Linked DNA regions of Homo sapiens: region 1 is linked to region 2. Evidence: promoter capture Hi-C in 16 types of primary human blood cells and fetal thymus (Javierre and others, 2016). All regions are on one chromosome and are shown on one strand. The core of a region is centred on a gene start or on the middle of the fragment in contact, and the rest is flanking DNA. Distances in the headings are between cores, read along the strand shown. Region 1 overlaps NEGR1 (neuronal growth regulator 1). Region 2 holds the start of NEGR1 (neuronal growth regulator 1).

Region 1 (6,169 bases), core at 1,127-3,626, 700 kb before region 2:
TTTTGTGTATTTTTTGTAGAGATGGGGTATTGCCATGTTGCCCAAGCTGGTCTTAAACTCCTGGGCTCAAGCAATCCATCTGCATCAGCCTTACAGAATGCTGGGATTACAGGACCAAGGCACTATGCCTGACCTACACACATCCTTTACTTCAGTTAAATATTTAACAATTCACCACTAAATGTATCATAGTGAAGCCATTAAAATATTACTTAGGAAGACTGAATAAAAATATGGAGACATTTTTGCAAGGTATACAATTGATTTTTTTAATGATATTGTAAAATAAACACATGGAGATGGTATGGTTATGTGAAAATGAAAGAAGTTTTGTGAGGAGGGTAGATAATGTACAATTGATATACAGTACAAAGGGAAAAACTATAGAAAATATAAGTGTTTAACAAAAGACTGTTATGATGCAGAAAAGCATCTTGTAATGTTTCTTCATGCCAATCTTATAAAATATTTTGGAAAGAAAGGGAGGGATTTGTCATAGAATACAATCCTATACAGACCCACAGACTATTATTTTGCTTCATAACCATATATATATTTTTTTAACTTTTGCCTCTAGAACTATAAAATGGAGTGTGTTTCTGGCCTTTCTCTCTATCTAATAGCAGCATATTATTTTGCCTTATTTTTTCTCATTAATTTTCATTTCCTCTAAATTTTAGTACACATATGGAAGGAGCAGATCTCATCTTTTCAAAGTCAGAAGAGATTCTCTGGGGGAAACAAAGTTTTCTCAAATCAAAACAAATATGAAAACAAGGAAACAAAATATGCTTTGGGCAGCCAATTCTGTGACTAAGATAATATTTTAAAAAAGTAATCCTGCTTTTCCCCAGAAATGTATGAGAAAATCTTTCTGCAAATTTCAAGCACAAGCAAGTTGCCTCCCAAATTGGCCATTTGCACTCCAGGGCTAAAGCTGAAAGCGCACAGAATTGCCTGAGTAATTCAATTGCAGGCAGAATCAATGCAAGTGTGAACGCTGCCCTGGTCAAAGGTTGGCCCTTAGGCTGCAACTTAAATCAATTTTGGGTAAGCTAAGTTTGATTACATTTTCAGTGATGAAGCTTTCAAAAGCAATTTTGGGCTTCCCTATTCAGAGGCTGTTTGGTTCCGTTCTGAATCTATACTCCTGGTTAGAGAAGCATCTATCTGTCTCTTTTGGTGATGATTAAGTCCTGGAGTTGAGGAGAAATAAGAGGAAGAAAATAAGAGGAAGGGATACAGAAAGTAAAAATAAATAAATAAATAAATAAATAAATAAATAGGTGAGAGCCTATCACTAATGTGAGTCAGTAACGTAAAAAAAACTTTAAAAAATATATGACTATCACAACAATAAGACAGGGAAAAGAATTAAGGAGGATGGTAACAAGGAAACGAAAATAATAAATGGAAGATTTATCATGATGGTGATATGTGGCAGCCTAAGATTATTTTAGCATGTGAGGCTCATTCTTTCAGGTGTTGCTGGCAGGAAGAATGTTAGAGAAATACAGGTGGTTCTGCAGAATGAAGCAAAATGGGTGTAAGAAAGGATGTCAAATATGGCCTCCAACAGGCACATGCTAGCCTGAGAGAAATAAACCCTTTCAATTTATCCTTTTCCAGCAGAGTCAAGCCTGCAGAGTTGATGTGCATCTATCACTTATGCAAGTCTTCCTAAAAAATGTGTTTACTTAGTTAATGTTAGTCAGTTTGATTATAGTTATTATCTACAGTTTGTATGCATATCATAAACTAAGTGCTCCCAAGGAGTTATAATTTTTTTGAGAAAATACAAATTTCCCTATAGTTATGGTCACTAATTCTTAGAGCAAATACTATTATTCTGCCCGTTTTAGGAAAACATATATGTTGTTACTCTTGTCTTAGGAAGTGTTTTAGAAAACTTGGAATTCATTCTAAGTGGACTGATTAGTGACTTTAATGGTTCTTCAGCAAGAATTATGATCTGCCTCACTAATTAAGCAGCTCCACATATGCACTAATTGGATTGACTCAAAGAAAGGAACCGAAGATTATGCAACTATCTAAAAAACACATTTGAGAGCTAGGAAACTGAAGTTGCTTCATTTCTTTAAAACTGTTGAAAGAGAAGTGTTGCTTAAAAATAGGCTAAAATTCGGAAAATCCAACCTACTATAAATGCCTGGCCAGAGCATAGGTGAAATAACATTTCCATGCAAGCAAGTCTGGCTTGGTTTATTCAAATCTTGTCTAACTATATACTGGGTGGATAGTTAATTTGTATCTCTGCAGAGAAATCCCAATTGAATTACATTTATAAAGAAAGGAAACCCTGTCCACACTGAATAGACACATTCAATGAGGACATGCCATTTTCAGTCTTTTCCCTAGCAGTTTTATGGATTCTAAAACTGAATTTAGAGTGCTTTAGAGAAAGAGTGGCCCACTGAAATATTATTGCTTTCACAGTTAATTCCTCCTCTTTTTACCTTTATCTGGAACATCAGAATGGCCAAAAAAAGAGCCAATTTCAATTTACTTTTTCGTTTAGTGGAGTACCCTAGTAACTATGTTTCACTCTGACTAAAGAGAAATAGGAAGTTTAATCATAATGATACTCAGACCTTCATAATAATCATTTTGTTCACACGTATTCCTGGATCTTTTATTAGGGGTCACATTTCCATTTTCAGAGAAAGAAATCACAGCACAGAAGCGAAGATGATACAGTGGCCCAGACTTTGCCACCTTATTACGTGCTCAAACCATTGGATCCCACTTTAGATGGAGTCAAAATTACAGGGAACACAGTGCACGCTTGATAAGTATGCTCCAAGAAACTTCTCAGAAGTGCTGGGAAAGAAATATCTCACAGGACCTCCAAAAGGCTTTGTAAGAGAAAAGATCAGGAAAGTCATACTGAAGAAAGACTCTGTTAATCTGTTTTCTTTTGACTGGAAATGTTGGCATGTTTTCATTTTTACAAAGTCCTAATAGTCACAACGCCATATACTCAAGTCACATTTTGGCCTAATTAGTTATAGGATTAGAGCTGTGTGAAATAAAATAGCAAGCAAGAATGTCTATTCTAGTGCCTTTTTCATAGGTTACTGGCCAAGGTTGTTGCAACTGTGAACATAAAGGAAATTTCTCTGGAGAGTAAAATTCTGTGTAGAGATGACAAAATGATTAGGCCAGCAGTGCTCTTGAGCTAAGTTTTATGGAAACTCACTACAGAGACAAGCACATTAAGATGCATTTTTTTGTCGAATAAAAATAATTTTGAGTTCAATAACAAAAATATACAGAAGGTAAAAATATTGGCAGCACTTCTACTTTGTTAAGGAGTAAGTTTAACTTTAAAAAATAACAATCAATCAATACATACTATCTTTTAAACATGCATAGATTTCTTAGGATCTGAAAACATTACAGCTGAAAGGTAACATGGAGACTAGTTAGTCTAGTCCCCTCATATTATAAATTGGTATGCTGAGGCCAGGCAGTAAATTGCTATGGAGCTCTCCAATTTAAGGCCAGTTTGACTCCAAGGGTAGGGCTTCTAGTAAAATTTTGTGATTAAATTGGAAACTCTAATTTATTTTTCTATGTGTTTTTGGTACCTAATCCTCATAAGCAAGCCATATTTCAAGGCTGATCAATGACAACACCAAATACCAAAGCTTCCTTTCCCTTCCAAATTTACTGACCCTTTGTCAGCTGTGGGAAATGTATGTGCTGTACCAGTAGCTTGAAGATGCCACTGTCAAATTGCCTCAATCTGGGAGAAACACATCAGTAGAGTAATTAATCTTGTACAACCTCTCCATCTTTTTTTTTTTTTTTTTTTTTTTACTCATTACAAGTGAATGCTTATGTGCATGGCTGATTTAATTAATAATTGTAATAAAAAGGACAATATCATAATGATATACATAGTGCATTAACAAATGAATCAAAGGACCAGTGCTGCTAATTTGTCTATCCAGTGAAATAAAGTTACACAGTTATTCAGGTTATATAGATCTGTGCTTGCCTGTGTTTACCCTTCAACATTTGAATTATACATGAGAAGGACAGAAGAGGAAACCAGCATTTAATAGGCACTTGTTTTAGACTAGTAGTGTATTGGCCATTTTGCATGTCCTCTCATTTAATCTTCACAATAATCCTATAAAAATAATTTATTTTCCCCTATTTTATAGGTCAGGTGACTAAAGTATCTACAATCCTTCATGAAGGATTATAGTTTTAACTTGGATCTGCTCGATTCAAAGCTTTTGGTGTTCCACCTGTGTAGTGGGAAAAGCACTGGAACAAGGGTAGTAAAAACGAAATTCTAGCCCTAGTTATGTTGCTTGACTTTGGTCTCTGACTCATCCTATTTGGGTTTCAGTTTCCTCACCTATAAAGTGAAAAAACTGGTTTAGACAAGAAGTTTTCAAAACAAATTATTTGGAACTGTATGACACCTTGAGAGGCTTCAAGGCCGCTATGTAATGTGATGGGTAGGAAAATAAGATTTGTCTCCAACTTAACCAAACTAACTCCAGTTTTATCTTTGTTATACATTAAGAGTTTGCATAGGTTTTATTTGGAGGAATAAAGGGTTTCATTGCTTAAGAAAGTTGGAAGAATTGACTATGTAAAATCTGAGACATCTTCTAGCTCCAATTTCTGTCAATTGACAAACGTAACTAAAGCTCCGCTAACTGATATGTGGTTTTCACTAGAGGCAATTTGGTGACCTGGAGCACCATAAACTTCAACAGTCACTCTGACTGCTTCAGCCTGCTGGTTATCGTCTCTCCCATATGCCACTAAATGACCATTTGGTGTCTATCTTCTTGAAAATACATACATGTTCCAGGTATGAGATTGAAGAGGTAAAATATTCTCTTGCTTTACTCATACTACACTTCAGCAAATTTGTATACTTTCATGACTTATGTGATGATTATGTCTGTGTGTGTTATTTTTGTTTGGTAGAGAACGACTTGATAGGCCTGTGTAGCTGGATCAAATTCTGCCTACAACTGCAAACCTAATTTTTGTCAAATATTTATTACCAGAGCACCAAGGAAAGCCTTCTCATTAACATCTCAAAGCTGCGAGGATAAAGCAGGTTGTCTCACACAGCACTCTGTCTTCAATAATCACCAAGTCTAAATTTATTACTGCCTCTTTCAACCAAAATGAAAACCCCATCTCCTTTAAGTTGCAAGAGGAGAGATAAATTTCTATCTAAAATGGGAGTCATTCACATCTGTGGTATCACCTTTCAGGGTTCATTATAATAGGTAAAAGTAACAGAGCCCATACAGTTGCTTACTGGCATGTGGGAACATCTGAAGCAAGCAGAGAGCTGAAATATTACTTGCAAGGACACAGCTAGTTTCATATTCAACAAATCAGTTGAAAGGTACTGTTCGCTTGCATCGGTTGAATCTAACCAGGGAAAAACAGTTACATTACTCTCTCTTACTTTCTCCAGTAGACTCTTCCATTTCCTTTTGGATACTAGCTACTGACTTCTTTTTTATCTGAAAAGAAAAGAAGCCCATCACATTAAACAGGCTGGGAAGAAATTTTCTCTGATATGAAAGGAGACATTCCAGAAAGTTAAAAAGCCCTGACTGCATAAAGCATTTAAAATTGGGACTTCATTATTGTCTCCACAAGGCTGCTAAGGCAGGGAAAAGACAGTTTTGATCGGTCCTTTGAATGTGTTATGTGTAATATTTCTGAGACAAATGCTTTGTTACTTTGAATAAATGCATACACGAGTACACACACACACACACATGCACACACACACACACACACACACACAGATATCCCTATAGCATCATTAGGACTTGTAGAACCTATACTACAGTAAAGGATTTGACACTATATTTTTAGGTACACCTGAGATGGGAGTTTAGCATCCACACATCATAGCAATATTATCATTACCTATTTTGGGACTCTAAGCAATGAGTCTTCATCAATAGTGAGACTCAATTTGTACCAAATATTTCCATATATTAGGTCTCAGGAGAGGGTTGTATTAAACTAAGGCTGTGTAAATTCTAAGCACTTTGCTTATGCAGCTTTCTTCCATCTTAATTAATTCTATTTCCCTTTAGATGGCAAGTCTTTGAATACGTGTCTTATAATAAATATTTGTACTTTTGTG
Region 2 (6,152 bases), core at 2,304-4,803:
GTCCAAATAATTCAAGTGAATCATTCAGAAATTTAGCACAGAATAACATTATTAAAAGTAAGAAACATCTTTACACTTCATATATATGGCTTCACTAACCCTAAAAGACAAAGTTAAAATGATAAAAATATTAAAATTATTAAGTGGAATGTCATCATAAATCCTGTATTTAAGCTAAACAGAAAAGATGATTTACAAAATGATAGATACAGTTAGATAACAGAATGAATTTCCCTTGGGTATTATAACTCCACTTAAGGAAAGTTTTGTTTTTCATGATCCTCTTCTCAAAAACAGATATTCTGGCACTTAGGAGACAGAAATGTATCATTTGACCTTTAAACTTCTGTTTTATTAGTGTAACCACAAGCAACAGAGTCACTGACTGGCATGTTTGCACTTTATGGCCTTTAGCACTTAAAATTATTTGATAACTGTTATGCCACTATTTGTTTTTTATTAAAGACACTGTGAGGAATATGTTACATTAAAAATAGAATATATTGGGCTAAGCTTGATGAATGATATGTAATTTGGTTAAGTGTTCTCTTGAGCACTTCATTCATGTATTTTGATGGGACAAGGGCATATGTTTGAAGGGTAGAATTTTGTTTTGTTTTCTAGTGAGTTAGAGAATAACAACAGATATGGTTTTAAGTATACAAAGAAAAAACAAAATATAACTGTAACATTACTCTTGATTAAAAAACGATGCATCACCTGAGTTGCCTATACTCAATTAGTCCTTAAGCTCTATCTGTAATGGTCTATGATCAGAGGAAATTACCAGCTGTAGAGAAGAGTCAAGAAAAAAATAACTGACAATATTTAACATTTTCTAATGGAGAGAGAATTTCTTATAAATGGATACGTTAAATTAGTTTAAAACCTACAGACAATGTAAGAAGTTCAACAACTGGATAATTCTTAGAGAATTTCAGAATTACTGTAAGCAAATTGCTTTGAGTAAAAGTAATGCAGTTCAAATTTCTATTTCATATGATAAAAAAATTTAAAAACTAAAATCTAATTTGTTAGAAACATTATTGAGAAGACACAGAGACTCTGTTCTCTTTAAGAAGTTTGAAAGTCAAGTTCCCTCAGTATCACAAAATGCGGGATATAGCATCAAAATGGATGAGGTACAGAGCACACAAAGTAAACAAGGACTGCACCAAACCAACAACACTGGAAATATATGGTCCCCACATATTAGGGAAGCTCCACTGTTGGAAGCAATGAGTGAACTAAACATGGGTCTCCTGGAAGCAGAATGTGGGTCCAGCTATCTTCACTAACCATAGTATTTATTAAATTGTTGTTTGTTTGGGAAACCAAATGCCAGGATACATTATTGAAAGAAAAGCAGTCTCCTAAACCCTTTAGGGTGGAAATGGTAATGCTCACTACAAATAAGCAATATGTTGCTTGCTACAAAAATACATATTGCAGCTCCCATGATATGTGTTTGCAATCTCTGAAGATAGTGTCTTGCCCTTACCACTGTTGTTCAAACTTCTAAAACAAACTTAACATAAAGAGAAAATACAGGCTTAATTTATATCCTCTCTGTGACAAAGAATTTATCACTGTTACCAACAATGAAAAGTTTTTTTTTACTGTGTAATATCAAAGATATTAGTTACTTTTGTATATAGTGGCATTTGTTATTCAAAACAGAAATTATTAAAAACATATGTATTAGTGTATATTAAAAAATACGATAGTATTCCAAATTTGAACTCATAGGCATGTTCCAAAAGGTGTAAGTCATATACCACACCCACATCATTAAATTTAAATATGTTGCATGTTTCAAACAGAAACATTTCCCACTCTCTTTCACCTTAGACATGTCATGTACACTGATGTTGTGCAAGCCAGACTTACAAGCCAACTACCACCCAGTGGAGAAAAAGAAGATCTTTCAGGGAAATGTGAGGTGGGGTGGCAGGGGGAGAAGGGAGGGTGATGGGAAAGAAATGAAGGAATAGGGCGTTTAGCTTTGTTTAGATCTAAGCTTTGCTGATCATCCATTTATATTTTCATAGGAAATAAAATATTCCCAGACTCCCACTCTGCAGTGTTGCTTAGGGGTAAAATCAGGGTATGGATGTTTATTAATGACAAACCACCTCAGAGCTCAAGCTCAGAGGAAAGAAGGGAAAATGAGAAAAATAAGTAAAAGTGAAGACTGATGGAGGGAGGAAGGTAGGAATAAAAAGGGGATAGAAAGACACAGAAAGAGAAAAAGAGAGAAGCAGAGACAGAGTGAGAGCAGCGAGTGAGACAGGCAGTGTGTACACATGTGTGAGTGACAATGTGGAACAGAGAAGGAGAGTATGCCTTTTAAAAACAGTGAGAGACAATCTGAATGTGGAAGTGGTTCTTACAGCATGGAAGTGCCAGTGCATGTGAGGATGTGAGAGTATGTGAGTTAGTATGTTTATGGAAATAAGATTTATGAGGGTGAGTAAATGGTACTGGAGGGGAACAGTGACCATGCCTGTGTGTGCCACAGGGGTGGGAAACGGTATGGGGAGAGGGATGAGAAATGGGAGTCAAAAGAGGGAAGACAGGGCACAGGATAGGGACATTAAGGAGGAATAAAAAAAATAGACAAAAAGAAAAAAGGGTAAAAGAGAGGAGGAAAGGGGATTAAATGTGAGGAACAGAAATTAGAGTCGTGGAGATAAAAATGAGAAAATATGAGAAGAAATTTTAAAAAGGAGGGAAAAAACAGAAAATAGAAAAGGTATGAAAAGAGATATTGGAGGGAAAAAGAGTTACAAGGAGGTGGGGAAAATGGTATAAGAGAATGAGGAAGGAGAAAAGAAAGAAAACAGAAAGCGGTAAAAGGAAAGAAAGATAAAGAGCAAGAAATCGAGCCTAAGTGTCCAAGTGAGAGGGAAAATAAATGGGAGCAGAGAACAGCAGTTTGAAAGAGTCGCTTATGCTGGAGTAAAATAGAAACAAACCTGATAAACTTGTCAGACTCTCCAGGAGTACCCCATGACAGTAAAACAGAGACCTTGTGCATTGAGTTTCAAAGTGGCACCTGCCCCTCCTTCTAAACCTGACAGTTCACTCATCCCCAGGCTACTTGGCGTTCCGGCAAAGTGCTTTAGCATCACGAGTCCAGCTTGCTACCTGCCCCAGCATAAACGGGCCGGGGCTCCGGGAAGAATCTGCACCTGGAATTCTTGGGATGTGGTCTTTCCATGATGAGCACCACCAGCATTATTGCTTGTGTTATAAAGAAGGCAAAGAGGGTTCAAAGAGAGACAGAAAGATAGACCGAAACAAGTACGAAAAGCACGCCGTTCTTCCTACCTAAGCACCGCCGTGTCCCCTTTTCTGACCATCATGTTGTCCACGGCCGCCCAGGGGAAGTCCACACTCTGTCCAGCCGGGAGGCAGGAGGGTAGCAGGCAGCACAGGCTGAGGAGCACCGCCGCCAGCCACTGGTTCGAGCAACAAGCACCCTGCACCAACAGCATCATGTCCATCCCTGCTAGGGCTGCTCACTCTCCAGCAGCTTTCAGCTCGCACTCCCCCACCCCCTGGTGCTGGCGAGTCTTCCCGGGAACCAGGCGGCGCGCCACAGGATTTTTTTTTTTTTTTTTTTTTTTTTTTTTTTTTGGTGGGTGGGTGGGTTTCTTTTCTTTCTTTCTTCCCCCCACCCCAGTTGTTGGGTGTTGTTTCTCTCTTTTTGTTTTTCGGTGTTTTTGCCTCCCCTCCTCCTCTTCGCTTTCCCTCCCTCCCTCCCCTCCCTCCCCCTGGCACCACACTACACCTCCTCTCGGTTGCTTTTGGCCGCGTCCGGAGTGTGTCTAATTCTCGGGCGGCTCGCACACCATCTAGCGAGGAGGCGAGCGCGCCGGCGAGTGAGGGAGGAGGCGCGGCGGCGGGGGAGGAGGCAGGGCGAGCGGCGGCGGCGGCGGCTGCAATCCCAGCAGCAGCAGCAGCAACAGCAACAGCAGCAGCAGAAGCAGCGCGGAGCGCTGCGCCGGCCGCCGGCTCCCGGGCTCGCGCGCGTTGCCAAGCGGCCGTTTCCTTAGCAACCCCGCCAGGGGACTGGGGATGGAGAAGGGAGGGGGATTAAAAAAATAATAAAAAAAGAAAGAAAAAAGATAGCAAGAAAAAAAAAAGAAAAGCAAGACAACGAAAAAAAAAATAGGAGGAACTGTATCACAATTATGCAAACTAAGGGGGAAAGAGAGGCACCTTAGAATGAAGGCTCTCCTTACTGTCGTAAGCGCTAGAGGGATTCTTTGCTAGAAAAGTCTCCGTGTCAGGGCTGGGGTGAAGAGAGCTGAGGGGCGCTTTGCCTTCCCTCACCGGTGCGTTTTACCTCTCGAGGCACCGTAAGTTTGAAGTCCTCCAAGTTGTGGTCGGCGCCATCATGACGCCGGCGACTGTGAGTTGTTTTTTTGTTTATTTTCTTCTAATCTTGCCTGGGTGGCTACGCTGCAGTTAGCGAGCAGCCAACTAGTTCTCTCTGCGTTTTCTCGGGAATAGGTAGGGACGGTGGCGGGGCGCTGCTTTTTTGCGGGGACACGAGGAGGTGCAAGGCCTTGCGGCAGAGCAGCTTGCGTGTTTGTGGCGGTCGGCCCGTATGGATTGCAGGACGCCCCTCTTTTATCTGTGGGTGTTGACACTAAGTTGTGTGTGTGAGTAGGGGATTGTTTATGGTCAACATGGAGTGTGTGTGTGATAGAGAGCGTGTCGTGCGCGCGGGGGCCTGTGCACGCGCGGCACGCAGGCGCGCTGGGAGGGACGGGGCGGGTCATGCTGGGATGTAGAGTCGGGAAAAGACTGCAATCAAGTGTTTTAATTGTGTAGAGCCCAGGCGGTCCAGTTATGTAAGAGGCAGTTTAACCCATTTGAGCCTATCAGGCCGAATAATCGGCGCATCCGAGTCAAGGCAGGGCAGAGTTAAGGGGTTTAACGAGTCGCAGGGTTGTATTTCTTAACAGCCTCCACACCGCGTTAACAGGCTTGCTCCTCCGCGGTGCAGAGCGGTAACCTCCGCTTCCCCACGCAGCAGCCCCTCCGCAGCTCGCCGGGCTGTTTTCAGCCCTGCCCTGGCCCAAGGCAGAAGGAGATACTAGGCGTGGGGCCACCCCTACTCTTTTTTCTTCTTTCCTTCTTGAACTCATTTCCAGATTCAAGATCCTTAAGCTTTTCCGGGCCATTTGCAAATCAATGCGAGAACCGAGGCTGAGTCGTTAGCAGTTACACCAATCAATCTTGTTCAGCGAGGAGTTTGGGAAGCAGAGCGGGGAAGTGAAAATGGAAAATAAGTAATTAAAAAATAAGCTCCCTCCCCCTCACACACTTTTTCCCTTCCTCCACCCCATCCCCCTTTAGCAGTGTTTGAAGAAGATATTCTTTGCCAGATCCCAGTTCTTCTTTTGGAGGAAATGAAGCAAAACCTCACACGTCCGTAACTCGTTTTCCATAATGCTAGCAGGGTCATTTGGCAAAGCGCACCGAAGCAAGACTCTCTGCAGGGGTCAGCATCCGGCTGCCTCCGCAGACTGAGCTCTTTACGAGGCAGGCAGGGAGTCGTTTTGCTTGGTGGTAGCAGTGTTCAGAGTGATTTTTATCGCCATGCACGGGGATATATGGGGAAAGGGAAGGGTTCCCATCACCTGTGACCACCCAGACTGGCTTACAGACGAATCCTTAACTAGCAACACCTCCCTGCTGAACTGGCACTCCAAGGCTGGGCAGCTAACGGAGACATTTGCGTCAGGAGTCACTGATGTTAGTATTCTGCCTTAACTCTCAAAACCGACTCGGAAACTGAGAGTGCAATAGTTTCAACCGCATTTTGAAACATCAATAAAATGTTAGTCATTTGCGGATGAATGAAAACATTTTCTTTACCGTCTGGTATGCTAGGGAAATAATTGTGAAATGACAGACTCTCACTAATATCGATGCCAAATACCTAAGTAACACTGTCATCTTGTTAACTGCATTTTTCTATCTTGCGTGGCACGCTGATGGATAAAGCGTAAAATTATCTAGGGCAAACGGGGGATTAGAAGACTTGACATGTCACATACATGGGCAAAGCTATGCAGTATTATTTAGCATTTCAGTAGAAACGAGCTAGATTCTATTGAAGAGACACAGAAGGT

The links. The method cuts DNA at HindIII sites, captures the fragments that hold promoters and counts their contacts. A CHiCAGO score of 5 or more calls a contact.
Region 1: a fragment that was not itself captured here is called in contact with the fragment with the promoter of NEGR1 in region 2 in 1 of 17 cell types (fetal thymus); the score reaches 6.0 in fetal thymus.

The regions. Positions count from the first base shown.
Region 1 is chr1:71,581,870-71,588,038 of GRCh38, forward strand. All of the region lies in intron 6 of NEGR1 (neuronal growth regulator 1), which reads right to left. Among named protein-coding and RNA genes, the nearest start is that of NEGR1-IT1, 250 kb to the right of the region's middle. The HindIII fragment of the contact is 2,586 bases long and covers 1,084-3,669 here.
Region 2 is chr1:72,278,986-72,285,137 of GRCh38, forward strand. NEGR1 (neuronal growth regulator 1) reads right to left here and starts at 3,554. Exons shown (of 7, transcript NM_173808.3): 1 at 3,334-3,554. The coding sequence starts at 3,509. It overlaps LOC105378797 (a long non-coding RNA gene), which reads left to right and starts at 3,949. Exons shown (of 6, transcript XR_947506.3): 1 at 3,949-4,420. RefSeq lists silencers at 3,741-3,800, 3,901-3,990 and an enhancer at 5,372-6,152. The HindIII fragment of the contact is 3,164 bases long and covers 2,019-5,182 here.